Linked DNA regions of Homo sapiens: regions 2, 3 and 4 are each linked to region 1. The links are contacts of gene promoters, found by promoter capture Hi-C in human tissues and cell types (Jung and others, 2019). All regions are on one chromosome and are shown on one strand. The core of a region is centred on a gene start or on the middle of the fragment in contact, and the rest is flanking DNA. Distances in the headings are between cores, read along the strand shown.

The links. The method cuts DNA at HindIII sites, captures the fragments that hold promoters and counts their contacts. A contact is called where the count stands out against the background at its distance.
Region 2: a fragment that was not itself captured here is called in contact with the fragment with the promoter of GSX1 in region 1 in 4 of the 25 tissues and cell types used here (H1 embryonic stem cells, adrenal gland, heart left ventricle and 1 more).
Region 3: a contact is called between a fragment that was not itself captured here and the fragment with the promoter of GSX1 in region 1, in 2 of the 25 tissues and cell types used here (mesenchymal stem cells and pancreas).
Region 4: a fragment that was not itself captured here is called in contact with the fragment with the promoter of GSX1 in region 1 in 1 of the 25 tissues and cell types used here (aorta).

Annotation. Positions count from the first base shown.
Region 1 is chr13:27,790,989-27,794,298 of GRCh38, reverse strand. GSX1 (GS homeobox 1) reads right to left here and starts at 1,816. Exons shown (of 2, transcript NM_145657.3): 1 at 1,197-1,816; 2 at 1-733. The coding sequence starts at 1,608. The coding sequence ends at 351. RefSeq lists an enhancer at 1,086-1,889. The HindIII fragment of the contact is 15,189 bases long and covers 1-3,310 here.
Region 2 is chr13:27,575,615-27,578,924 of GRCh38, reverse strand. The region is part of intron 2 of LNX2 (ligand of numb-protein X 2); the gene reads left to right. Among named protein-coding and RNA genes, the nearest start is that of LNX2, 43 kb to the left of the region's middle. The HindIII fragment of the contact is 3,423 bases long and covers 32-3,310 here.
Region 3 is chr13:27,614,776-27,618,085 of GRCh38, reverse strand. The region is part of intron 1 of LNX2 (ligand of numb-protein X 2); the gene reads left to right. Among named protein-coding and RNA genes, the nearest start is that of LNX2, 4.1 kb to the left of the region's middle. The HindIII fragment of the contact is 4,182 bases long and covers 1-3,310 here.
Region 4 is chr13:27,631,146-27,634,455 of GRCh38, reverse strand. It overlaps a transcript of POLR1D not described here. Among named protein-coding and RNA genes, the nearest start is that of POLR1D, 11 kb to the right of the region's middle. The HindIII fragment of the contact is 4,158 bases long and covers 1-3,310 here.

The DNA of each region.
Region 1 (3,310 bases), core at 567-3,066:
CCAGCCCAGAGAGGGCGGGCTAGGAGGCGCCGGCTGCCAGCAAGGCGCTGCGCCAAGCAGGCTTGCGGGCGGGGGCCGCGGTGCTGCACTGCCCAGGAGGACTCGAGCGCTTACAGTGTTCACAGCTTGGAGTTGGCTTTGGACACGAGCGAGCCCTGGGGCGGGGACGCCATGGTCCAGTCTCTGCCAAGCTCTCAGCCCTGCCCAGGCCCGGGACCTCTGCAAAGCAGTGCCAAATCCATGCCAGGCAGTGGTTTGGCTGCGGGTGCCTGGGAATCAGCGCTGAGTCCCAGGACTAGTCTCCGAGGCGCAGGGAGGTCTTGGGGTGGGCGACCTAGGGAGACACGCGCCTAGGGAGTGACCGTAAGATCCCGGTCGTCCTTCCCTGAGGAGGACGGAGACATGGGCAATTCGTCGTCATCCTCGGAGCACTTGGCTGAGGAGAGCGATGCGCACTTGCAGCCTTGCGGTGCGCTCCCGCCACCACCGGCACCCCCGCCGCCGCCGCCACGATGGTTGCTGCCCTTGCCCTCCTTCTTGTGCTTCACTCGGCGGTTCTGAAACCAGATCTTCACCTGCTTCTCGGACAGATTCAGGTAGGTCGCGATCTCGATGCGACGTAGGCGGGACAGGTACATATTAGAAGCGAACTCGCGCTCCAGCTCTAGCAGCTGCGTGCTGGTGAAAGCCGTGCGCATCCTCTTGCTGCTGGGCAGCTGGTTAGAGCTGCTGTCTGGAGGTGGCAGAGCAGAGAAGGAAGCGATCAGACCTCTGTGCTGTGGACCCAATCCCTTGGTAGGCGGTCGCCAGAATCCTACGACTTTGACCTCTTACCCATCTCTTCGCCCCAACACAATCCACAGCAGAGCTACAGTGAGCGCTCCTTGTCCAGCTCCGAGATCCTGATTCTCCCGGAGTCATGCAGCCCTGGAACCCCTTCCCCTTCATGGAGAGCCTTGGATCCCAGCCCTCACTTACCCCGGCCCACACTCCAGGACCTGGACGTCTGCCCTCATCCGCCTCCTGGCGTTGTGTCCCGGCCCTCTATCCTCACTCCACCCCAAGCGCCCCCCTTAGTCCCCGACATGACCCTCACCGCCCCCAGAAAGCCCAGGGTCCCTCTTCCTCCATCTCTGGCTCTCCATCCTGCTTCGGATCACCTCTGCCCGGTCCCTCTGCGCGGCGGCCCCGCTTACCCACAGAGATGCAGTGGAACTGCCTGGGGTCAGGCAGCGGGTAGGAGGTCTGGTAGAGCGCGGCGGCAGCAGCAGCGGCGGCCGGGCCGTGAGCGACCCCGGGCGACACAGCAGAGTGCTGGCGGCCCAGGGGCGCGTGGCAGTACTGCGAGCCGAAGGGTGGGAAGGAAGCCTTGAGTAGAGGCAGCGCGGGCGGCCCGGGGGGCCCATGCAGCTGCGAGGCGGTGACGCAGAGCGGGCACACGCACAGCAGCCCAGCCTTGCGCGCGTGGCAGGCGCCAGGCGAGAGACCGTGCAGCGCGTGCGGCGGGGGCACAGCGTAGGGGAAGAGCGGCGGCGGGCTGCCCTCGGGCGCCTTCTTCTCGCCCGCCTCGCGCAGCACTAGCGAGTCCACCAGGAAGGAGCGCGGCATGGCCCCGGCGCGCGGTCGCCCCGCAGCCAGCCCGCCCTCTGCGCCCACCGCACCTTTCGGCTCTCCACGCGCTTTCCCTGGCCGCGGTATCCCGCAGCTGCCTCTGCCCAGGAGGCTGAACGCGCGGCTGAGACCTAGGCTGAAACAGTAGCCTCTGCTGCCGTGGGCACCGCCCAAAGAGCGCGGGGTGCTGGCCAGCGCTAGTGGTGCTGAAAGGCGCCGGCGGCGCGGCTTAAATAGGACTATTGCCATGTGATGGACTACGCCAGGAGCGGCCGGGGCCTCTCAATAGGGTTTTTGTGCCTTTTCTCTTGGCATTCACTCTGCACGCTTCCTCATTATTTCACTTGTTAACTAAATGAACTGCATAATGTACTCTATTCTTGTCAACCCCACCCACGCCGTAACAGGCGCCCTCGCCCCCTCCTCTCCCTTTTGCGGGTTTATTTTCTCATTCTCCCGCGATTTAATATTCTTTCCTTTCTCTTTATTTCTTACTCCCCTTTGGCTTTGCATTGGCCATCAGCCCGTTCACCTTACTGATTTTGCACCCCCGCGGCCTCTCTTCTACAGATCCCCATGGGCGCACACCCTCATATCCTCTGTCCACTTGGTCCTGGTCCCCTTCTTTCTATTATCGCCCTTACACCCCAAAAGTATGCTGTCTCCAGTCAGCCCTGTCAGCTCAGTGCCGTGCACCCCCGAACCTCCCTCCAGCCGGTCTCAGATTTTCCACCTGTGGAATCGCTTCTCTCTCTGCGTCGGAAGAAGGAGGACCGGGTTCCCGCGTGAAGGAGGCGTCTGTGGGGAGGGAGGAGAAGGGCTCATTATTCCTTATCCAGCCCTAGACCCATCGCTGTCCCTCGGTTTTCTCTAAGTTTCTCAAATAGTCTTAATTTTGGTGCTGCCTACGACGCCCAGTCTTTGTTCGGTAGATGCTGGCCAACCAGCCCTTTCCTTCAAATGACAGGGCCGTGGATGTAAAAGAGGAAAAACAGTCTCTGAGCGTTACGAACAGAGACAGGGAATGGGGAATGAAAGCCGAGATGGCGCAGATCTAGATCTCGCACCCCAGCACATGTGGCGAGTGCGGACTGTCTGCCCGCGCATCTTGCCCACACCCTGTCTACTGGAGCACACTTCCAGCAGTGCGCTGGGAAACCGCTGCCATCTCTTAGTTTGGAACGGCGCGAAGGGCGGTTGTATTCCTGGCATCGGCTGCCTTTGCCCACCCTGACCCGCCTCCGCTCTCCCCAAGACCCGGCTTCTTCTTCCTGCCGCGTCACTCTTCTTTCTGGTCACACAATGGTTAAACAACTTCAAACGCTCAGAGCTGTGTACACAGCTCCAGCTTTTTAAATCGTTCTCGGGCTCAAAGCTGTTTCGCCCAGGAGCTTTTTCCATACAATGGGAAATCAGCATAAACATTTCTAATTTACAGCCCGGGACTTTTCACAGGAGACGTTTACTTTCGATTTTATTGGAACCAAATCGCTGCAGTCACCTGCTCTGAGCCCTGAATGGAATTGTGAGAAATGGAGGGGGAAGCTTAGGGGTCTGGGGAAGCAGTGCGCAGGAATAAGATTGCCCAAACCCGAAGCATCTGCATGGGCTTTTATCCTTGGCAACATCTTTGCAATAACAACAGCAACAGATTATAACTGATTAAAAAGCAAAGATAATTTGTTTTGCGAGATAATAA
Region 2 (3,310 bases), core at 494-2,993, 220 kb after region 1:
ACTGACATAAAACAACAAGCATTTGTTGATTCTGTGAGTCAGGATGCAGACAGGATGAAACAGGGATGGCTTGTCTCTGCTATCTTTATGTGTGCCACAGCTGGGAAGGAGCTGAAAGCCAGGGACTGCAACAGTTGTAACTGGAGAGTCTACTTCCAAGATGGTTTCTTCATTCACATTTCTGACACCTTGATGGGAATGACTAGGTGCGTGGGACTTGTCAGCTGGAGAGGCTACAGGTAGCCTTCCCAGCATGACAGCCTCAGGGTATTTAAAGTTCTTACATAAGTGGTTCAGTGTCTAGTAGGCTGCATGGCCTCATATGATCTAGCCTTGAAGTTGCCTGGCATCCCTTCTCTGTTGGAAGCAGTCATAAACCCACCCATATCCAAGGAAAAGGGGACATAGGTTTCACCTTGTGATGGGAAGTCAAAAAAATTTGCAGCCATGTTCTAAAACCAACATAAACTAGCAAGAAGAATGATGTTATGCGGCGCAGAATATGATTACTACGACTGTTTGCGGCTTCTCGGTATACAAATCTCACTTGTTTGTTAGAAATTGGTAAGTCTGTAAGTTTCATTGAAATTCATAAGATTTTAGCATCAGCAACAAAGAGTCATTGTATAAAAGTTGCATGGCTGTCATGTGCCTTTGCTCTTGAGCTTTTAGGGTTTACAGGAATCTCTTAATTATTGGTAGAAATAGAGCATTAGCAGTAGTTTGCATAAATTTGATAATTTCACATTTAAGATCACCTTCCTATTTGAATGAAATCCTGCCCTTAACAAATGTGTTTTGATTTGAGAAGAGCAAACATTTTTCTCCTACAGATAAAATATTTATGAAAGATGAACATGTTTAAATAAAACTGCTATTTTTAACTGATTATGTATTAGTGAAATGAAGAATTTTAAGAGACATGGACAGTCTCTATCTTTGAACAGAGAAATAAAGCCTTTGAAAAATATTCTACATGTTGTACTAAATATGTAACATTTTGATTGTTTCTTTGAAATTCTGCCAAGCAACATCAGCTATATAGCATTCCTCCTACGCTCTACCACTCATCTCCAACCCACCCTTAACGATTTAACATTTAAGCCTTTGGTAATTGTAAGTGCTAGTTGTTGTTGTTGTTTTTAAATTGTGTGTTTGTGCCCTAGTTTATGGCAAGGTTCAGAATTACTTTTCCTCTTAAAAATTACAGTTTAATGCCATTATAAAAAGTTTACAATAGAAAACCTTTAAAGAAGCCTCTTTCCTTGCTGAGAACTTTTCTTGTTCATGAGATGGTTATGAAACCTTAAGTTCAAGTTTGTTCAGCCTGTGCCACATGCAGCCCAGGAAGGCTTTTGGGATTATTTTTTTTTTAAGCTTATCAGCTATCATTGATGTTAGTGTATTTTATGTGTGGACCAAGACAATTATTCTTCTTCCCGTGTGGCCCAGGGAAGCCAAAAGATTGGACAACCCTGCTTTAGATGATGGTCCAGGAAAAACTAAATAGAAAAAAAAGGGATCAGGATAGGCTGAGGCATGATTGCACTTTTAAATTCACACTTTAACTTGGAGGGAAGTTTGTGTTTAGCACATTCTTATCAGTATTGTTTTTTCATGTATGGTGTGAAAAAGCAGATATATGTATTTGCAAATCATGTGTATTCTAGTATCCAGAATATATAAAGAACTCTTAGAAATGAAAAGATAAATCCAATTTTAAATGGGCAAAGGATTTGAATAGATAGTTCTCCAAAGATACTCAAGTGGCCAGTAAGCACATGACATGCTCAACATCATTAGTTCATTTTTATATTGGATTATTTGTCTTTTTGCTAAGTTGTAAGAATTTTCTATGTATTCTGGATACTAGACCCTTACCAGATATATGATTTGCATATATTTTCTCCCATTCTGTCAGTTGTCTTTTCACTTTCCTACATCCTTTAAAGAACAAATATCTAATTTTTATGAAGTTCATTGTTGTTTGCTTATGCTTTTGGTGTCATATCTAAGAAAACATTGCCCAATTCAAGGTCACAAAAATTTACATGTACGTTTTCTTCTAAGAGTTTTCTAGTTTTCTCTCTTATAATTCAGTTTTTGATCCATTTGGAATTAATTGCAATGAGAAATCATAATGTGTATTGTTCAATCCTTTAAATTTTATTGAGGCCTTTCTTTTCTTTTTTTTTTTCTGGAGATAGCATCTCGCTCTGTCACCCAGGCTAGAGTGAAGCAGTGCAATCTTGGCTCACTGCAGCCTCCACCTGCTGGGTTCAAGTGACTCTTGTGCCTCAGCATCCGAGTAGCTGGGACTACAGGCGCACTCCACCATGCCCAACTAATTTTTTTTTTTTTTGTGCTTTTAGTAGAGACGGGGTCTTGCCATATTGCACCAGGCTTGTCTCAAACTCCTGAGCTCAGGTGATCCTCCACCTAGGTCTCCCGAAGAGCTAGGATTACAGGCGTGAGCCACCATGCCCAGCCTTGAGGCCTTTTTTAAAATGGCCTAGCACATGGCCTGTCTTGGAAAATGTCCTGTGTGTACTTGGGAATAATGTAAATTCTGCTGTTAATGGATGGAGTGCTCCATATGTCTATTGGGTCTAATTGGTCTATAGTGTTAAAGGGTCTATTTTCTGGTTCCATGTCTAGTTGTTCTGTTAGTATTGAAAGTCGAGTATCAAAAGCTTTATTGTTGATTTGTCTATTTCTCTCTTTGTCATTTTTTACTTACGTATTTTGGGGCCATTGTTTGGTACAATTTCTGTTTATAATTGTCATATCTTGTTATGTTTTTCTGTCTTTTGCTTTATTTATGTCTTTGAATCTGAAGTGTGTCTGTTGTAGACAGTTGGATTATGTTTCTTGTAGCCCATTCTGCCAGTCACTGACTTTTTATTGGGATGTTTCATTCATGTAATTTAATGTAATTACTGATAAGGTAGGCTTTACATTTGCCATTTTGCTGTTTGTTTCTATATGTCTTATTTCTTTTTTCCTCCATTTCTTCCATTTGTGTTAAATATTTTTAATATGCTATTTTAATTCCCGTGTCATTTCTCTTAATTAAAATTATTTTCTTAGTGGTTACCCTGGGGCTTACAATTAACATCCTAGTTTATAGCAGTCTATTTTAAATGAATACCAGCTTCATTTTCACTAATGAATTAGTCAGGGATCTGTAAGGAAATAGAACCAATATATGAGGAGTTGGCTGACATGATTAAGGAGTCTGAAAAATTACACGTTCTGCTCTCTGCACGCTGGCAACCCAGGGAAGTCAGTAGCATAATTCAGACCTTCT
Region 3 (3,310 bases), core at 462-2,961, 180 kb after region 1:
ATTCTAATTCTATTACTTACCCTTAGAATAACTATCCTGACAGAACTTTGATTTCCTAACATTTGGGAAATGATTGTCGTACCTGTTGAGTAGGGTTTGAGGAATTATGCATGTAATGCCTTTGGCAGGGTACCTAGCACATTCCAAGTGCTCAGTAAATATTAGTTGTTCCTTTAGATGATGACATTAATGAGCTAGTGGAATGTTGGAGGATATGAGAAGGAGCAGTTAAAAACAATTGATGGTAGAGGTGTAGAAGGGAAGATAAGTTCAGTTTTGGACTAATCTAAGGAGGTGCTAAATGGATGGTTGAGAGATCCATGATGCAGTTGTTGGATAGTTGTGTCTCACAGGAGCTAGGAAAGAATAGAAAAGAAAAAGAGTTCACAGAAAGGCTTTATGAGTATGGTAAGCTTTATGAGAGATTTAGAGGAAGGGGAGGGTGAAGGGGTTCACAGTGGAGCGATATCAGAAGTGTTGACATTGAATATTAGGCATTTCTATCCTTAAAATATATTTTGGCCACCATCAAAGAAAGGAGGACTCCAGGCTCTTGTAATCTGGTTGGCTCTTTGGCCTTCTTCCCCTCTTCTTTCTTTCCTTTACAATTGCCACCCGATATCTTTAAATTGTATTATGAGGAACTATTTAACTTTCCTTCCTGCTTACAGGGCTAGAGTTCACAGGCCCACCTTCCTCTATCCAAATGCATCTAGGTTTTTAAAAAAGAATCACAGGTCTCATTTCATAGGTTCTCCTCTATTTAGGAAGCAGTGTTGTTTGAAAAAGTAATACATATGTATCTTGCATGTAGAATTAGAAGACTGGGGCAGGCCTACCTAAATTGACCCTGTAGGAGGGCCTGAGAGTCTTACAAAAGACATCCCTTTTAGCTTTCCTGGCACCTGTTTCTTTTCCTCAGAAAATACAAAGCAGTAGGAAAATCTGTGGTTAATAAGTTATTTTGTTTGGTTGGATTCAGAAAAGGTGGCTATTTTGTGTATTAGCCTTCTAAGAAGTTATTAAGAGGAATTTTTTGGCCAGGTGCAGTGACTCACGCTTATAATTCTAGCACTTTGGGAGGCTGAGGCGGGCGATCACGAGGTCAGGAGTTCAAGACCAGCCTGGCCAACACAGTGAAACCCTGTCTCTACTAAAAATACGAAAATTAGCTGGGCGTGGTGGCAGGTGCCTGTAATCCCAGCTACTCAGGAGGCTGAGGCAGGAGAAATCGCTTGAACCCGGGAGCTAGAGGTTTCAGTGAGCTGAGATTGCGCCACTGCGCTCCAGCCTGGGTGATAGAGCTAGACTCCATCTCAAAAAAGGAATTTTTTAACAAGCAAGTGCTCATGACATTACAATAATAAATTGTCCTCTAGTTAGTATGCTTTTAAAGAAGCAGGTGTTGTAGGTTCTATCCTTTAGAATGTGTGCTTCCTAGAGCTGGGATCCTATCTATTTTGCTAACTGCAGAATCCCTAAGTACTTAAACAAATATTAATGTATTGTAAACCAAAAATAAAATTCTAAGCTTCCCCCTCTCCCCAGCCATCTGAATGGACTTCCTCCTCATCCAGGGGTCTTTTAAAATTTAACCTGAGAGACAGTTTCAGGCCATGAGTGGGAAGTGGAGGTCGGACATGACTTGTTATACCTCTCTGACATTAACATTAACATAGACTTTAAGTCCGATAAGAAACGTTTTACTACCACCTATCGAAGCCTACTACCTGAAGGCTTCCTCTGAAAGTAAGAACTTGGGTCTCCACAATCCTTTGTCTTAACCCAGACATTCCTTTCTGTTGATCCCAGGGCTTTAGACAAACTCAACCGACTGTCAACCAGAAAATGTTTAAATTTACCTATGGCTTGGAATGGCACTCCCTGCTACCCCCCCCAACCCCCCACCCCACCCCCGACCCCCTGCAATTGTCCCACCTTTCTGGACCAAACCAATGTATTTCTTAAAATTTTTTGATTGATGTCTCATGCCTCCCTAAAATGTATAAAACCAAGCTGCACCCCTACCATCTTGGGCACATGTTCTTAGGACCTCCTGAAGGCTGTGTCATGGGCCATGGTCACTCAGATTTGGCTCACGATAAATCTCTTCAAATATGTTGCAGAGTTTGACTCTTTTTGTTGACAGCATGCATTAATGAACAAATTGGATCCAAATTGGCTTTGATCTGGCTTGGCTCACAGACTTCTCCAAATCTTTGAAACAGTCATTGGTCAGAGGGAAAGCAAAAGAGAATTGATCCAGTGAGGAAGCTTGAACTGTTCCCTGTTCTTATAGGAATATAGAAGAACTGCAACATTGATGGCTTATGATTAAGCTTCTGTGATGTTGTGAAATATATATATGGTCTTTATCCCTGTTTCCTGGCATACAACTCTCAAATTCCTTGGAATCTGCAAAGCGCTAAGTGTCTTTGTATGCTGATGAGTTGACTGAACAGCTGGCAGCCCCTAGGTAGCTTCAGGATGGGCCCTGGGCACTGGAAAGGCTGGATTAGAGGGTTAGGACTGTCAGCCCCACCACCACCCTCCAGGGAGGGCAGAGGAGCTGAAGGGTAAGCTGATCACCAATGGCCAATGATTTAACCAACCATACCTATGTTATGAAGTCTTCATAAAAGGCCCAAGAGGACAGGGTTCAGAGAGCTTCTGGACAGCTGATCACATGGAGGTTCCTGGAGGGTAACACGCCCCAGAGAGGGCATGGACGCTCCGCACCCCTTCCCCGTACCTCGCCCTGTGCATCTCTTCATCTATATCCTTTGTAATATCTTTTATAATAAACTGGTAAACCTAAGTAAGTGTATCCCTGAGTTCTGTGAGCTGCTCTAGCAAGTTAATTGAACCCAAAGAGGGGTTATGGGAACCCCAAATTGAGGCCAGTCAGTTAGAATTTTCTGAGGCCTGCACTTGCGACTGGTGTCTGGTGGAGAGGGGAGCGGTCTTGGAGACTGAGCCCTCAGCTTTGGGATCTGGGGTTATCTCCAGGTCAGAATTGAATTGAACTAGAGGACACTCAGCTGGTGTCCACTGCTTTGTGTACTGGGGTGTCGGGGGGAGCCCACATTTGGACATAGAAGTATTCTGTGTTGATGACTGTTGTGTTGAATAAGAGAATAGAAAAAAACACTCCTGAGTGTGTTTTTATTTCCTCTCAGTTTCCAAGGCTCTGTTGTCTATCACTTTGTTTTATAGATAAAAGTAAGGTAAGTCTGGGAAATATTTATACCTGCCACCCCCTTCCCCGTTGGGATTTCGGCTACTAATCTTAAAGACTTAATCGTTTATG
Region 4 (3,310 bases), core at 286-2,785, 160 kb after region 1:
CTTTTGGCCAGGAGTAAGTCTAGTTGGCTTCCTCATGTTCTGGCTTGTTCTGATCTTTCATTGCTCTCCGATGGGGACCAACTTATTAGAACAAGGAAATAGGAAGGGAATCCTCTGCTTGCTTGCTACAAGTCTGGGCAGCAGACAGTGACACACCTGTAAGCTAACACTTCTAAAGACAGACATTTTCAGCACAACAGTTCCTAATCATAAACCCCTAGAATCCTTTATGTTTTCCAACCATTTAAGGACAAAGTACAATCTTTGCCATATAAACAAACTAATCATAAGTTTCTAATCATAAGCCCCTGGAATCCCTAATATTTTCCATCCATTTAAGGACAAACTGCAGTCTTTGCCATGTAAACAAACCAATAAACAAAAAGCAGAAATAAAACTGTAGAATCAAGTCTAGAAGGCTTCAATTACAAGGTCTGATAAAGAATATAAATCCAACTCATTTACTTTGACAAGAATATGATGATGGTACTCTCTTACTCCTCATCTTCAGGGAATGAAGAGATAAATGAAGCTTATATTAATTTTATATTACCAATTTTAATCACTTTTGGAAACAACAACAGCAACACAAACCCCTTGTTAAGTATTCCAAGCTCCGGGACTTATGTTTAAGTATGCAGAACAAAGCAGCAACTCAGGATCTGAAATAATGTTAGATGAGGGATCGCAATGTTGGGTGATCCTTCACTTGAAATCTGAATTCCAATGAAAATTTATTCTTAGATCCCATGTAACTTATTAACAGTTGTAGACAAATGCTCATGAGGACCCAAGGGAAAAGTGCAAGAGTCTGTTCAATTTATTGTGGAGCAAACATGATAAAAATGGCACAACAGACATCAAATTATTGAATGCTTTAAGTCTTTGTTTTGTCCTTCAAGTGCTTCAGGTCACCTAAATAAAGACTAGGATTTCTGGCAATTTTCCATGGAAGTGAAGGAAAGTCCATTTCACAAAGTAAGGGCAAAATAAAACTTAAGCAATCCTACATCCTTTCACCCCATTAGATTTTTTTGAAATATTATCGGTCTGGGAATTCCCCAAATCCAAAATCACACAGTAGGTATATGGGTAGAACAGGTGCTCACAAAACCAACATTGTCGGCCTTGGCGGGGGTCAGTTCTCATTAATGTGAGATGCGTTGCAGTCAAATTTGGCCTTGCAGATACAAAGCCCTGCCTTCTTATGTGTGTATAAACAACATGCCCAATTCTTCTTAGCTCAGGTGACCCCTCTGGAATCATCTACCTGGCAATATCTATCAGATCTGCTTGGTTCCTACTGCATAGGCTACTCCTCTGGCACTCTATCTTTGCCTGCTCTGGTCACCCTTTGCCTAAATGAACCTCTAGGTCTGACTCCTCCTGGACAGGCCCAGTCTCTTGCCAACTACATGTGACAAACTATGGAGTTGAAGACACACAACCACAAATTTGTGGTTCTCAATTCGAAGCTTATAGAATAGTTATTTCCCTTTTTAAATTCAAGTTCAGCTCTTGGGGTATTTAATGTAAAAACAATACAGAGTCAATCTGCTATTCATTCATTTGATAAACATTTTTTGAACACCTGCTATGAGCCAGGCATTGTTCCAGGGGTTGTGGATACATCAGTGAACATTAAAACAAAAATCTCTGCTCTCACAGAGCTTATGTTACAGTGTGTGTGTTTGAGGGGTAGAGGGAAAGGCAATATATAATGAATATAATAAAAAGGTAAATTATATATCTCATATGTTAGAAGATAAGTGCTATAGAAAAAATACAAGGTAGGAGTGCTGGGGGGCGGGGGGTGCTGCAATTTTAATGAGGTAAAAGAGTTACAAGAAATGACACCTATCCTTCAGTTCTTTACTACACAGCTCTTTGGTCTAGTCGGATTGCAAACTCTGTGAAGGTAGGCATGAAATGAGATTCGTCTTTGCTTTCTTGGTACCTGGAAAACAAATGGACCTTAAATAGCTGCTGGAAAAACAAATGCATGCATTCTGTTATTTTTCCAAAGCAATGCTATTTGTAGTAAATGGCATAGATTTACGAGACAGCTGGTTAGGAAATGAGTGTACTATTCGGCATTGAAAAAACAGCATACCTTGGAATCAAATCCTTTCAATTCCACTTCATGGTACTCAAAACTACAATCCTACCACTTTTTCCCTCCTAGAGTTCTGTGGGGATAAGATCCCAAGGAAAATTCATATCACTCTCCCATACTGCTCTTGCAAAGTAAAAATATCCATCAATCAACTTCAAGTGGGAGATATTCTACCTTTTTAAACCAATAGACAAGACAACAGATGAGGCATGGGATCAAGGTGGTGAAGATAGTAGTGTTAGAGGCTCTTGAGGACACAGAGAAGACAAAAATGAAACAGAATATAAAGCATAACCACCTTTATCAAGGCTCTCTATGATGCTTACTCCTGCCTCCCCTCAGCTCCTCCTCCCACTGAAGCCACAGGATAGGCATGGTTCCTTGTCCCACTCAATAATTTTTTGTCTTCTTGAAGCTTGTTACTGTGGTGGCTTTCTGAGTTGCAAATGTCAGCTGATAAGTGTACAAAATAATGTCATTATAAATCATCAGTCCTTCTTCCTGTTGTGGTACTCATACTCTGACACTGGTATGTAATCATGCACATTATTCATTGACTTTCTGAAGAAACATTAATGAAAGCCTACTGTGTGCCTGACCCAGTTTTAAGTGCTTGGGGTTCAGAAGCGAACAAGGACAAAGCCCTTGCCGCCAAGGAGATATTTTTCAAGTGGAGTTAGACAATAAATAGATAAATATATAATATAATGTCAGTTGACAATGAGTACTATGAAGGAATATAGCAAGGTAAAGGAATAGAGAGTGATGGAGGTTTGTATGTGGGTGTGCATGCCACTTTAGAGAAGGCGGATGGGTAAGCAGCCGCTAAGATGGTGCCAAGGATCCCCACCTCCTGGTATTCAGACCCTCATGTACTCGCTCTCAAGTGTGGGCTGGACTTACTGACTCATGTCTAACCAACAGAATAGAGCAGAGGCAATGGAATGCCACTTCTGAGAGTAGGGCATAAAAAGACTGGCTTCTGTCTTGGGTTCTCTCTAACTCTGTTTTCCTGGCTCTGGCAGGAAGCCAGCTGCCATGGCATGTAGCAGCCCCATATGAGTGAGCTTGTGGGCAAATCGTCTCCCATGCAATCCTCAAGAGTGCAGCCTGGATGACATCTTGACTACAGCCTTGTCAGAGACCCTGAGTCAAAATCACCCAGCTAAGCTCCACCCAGATTCTTGACCCACA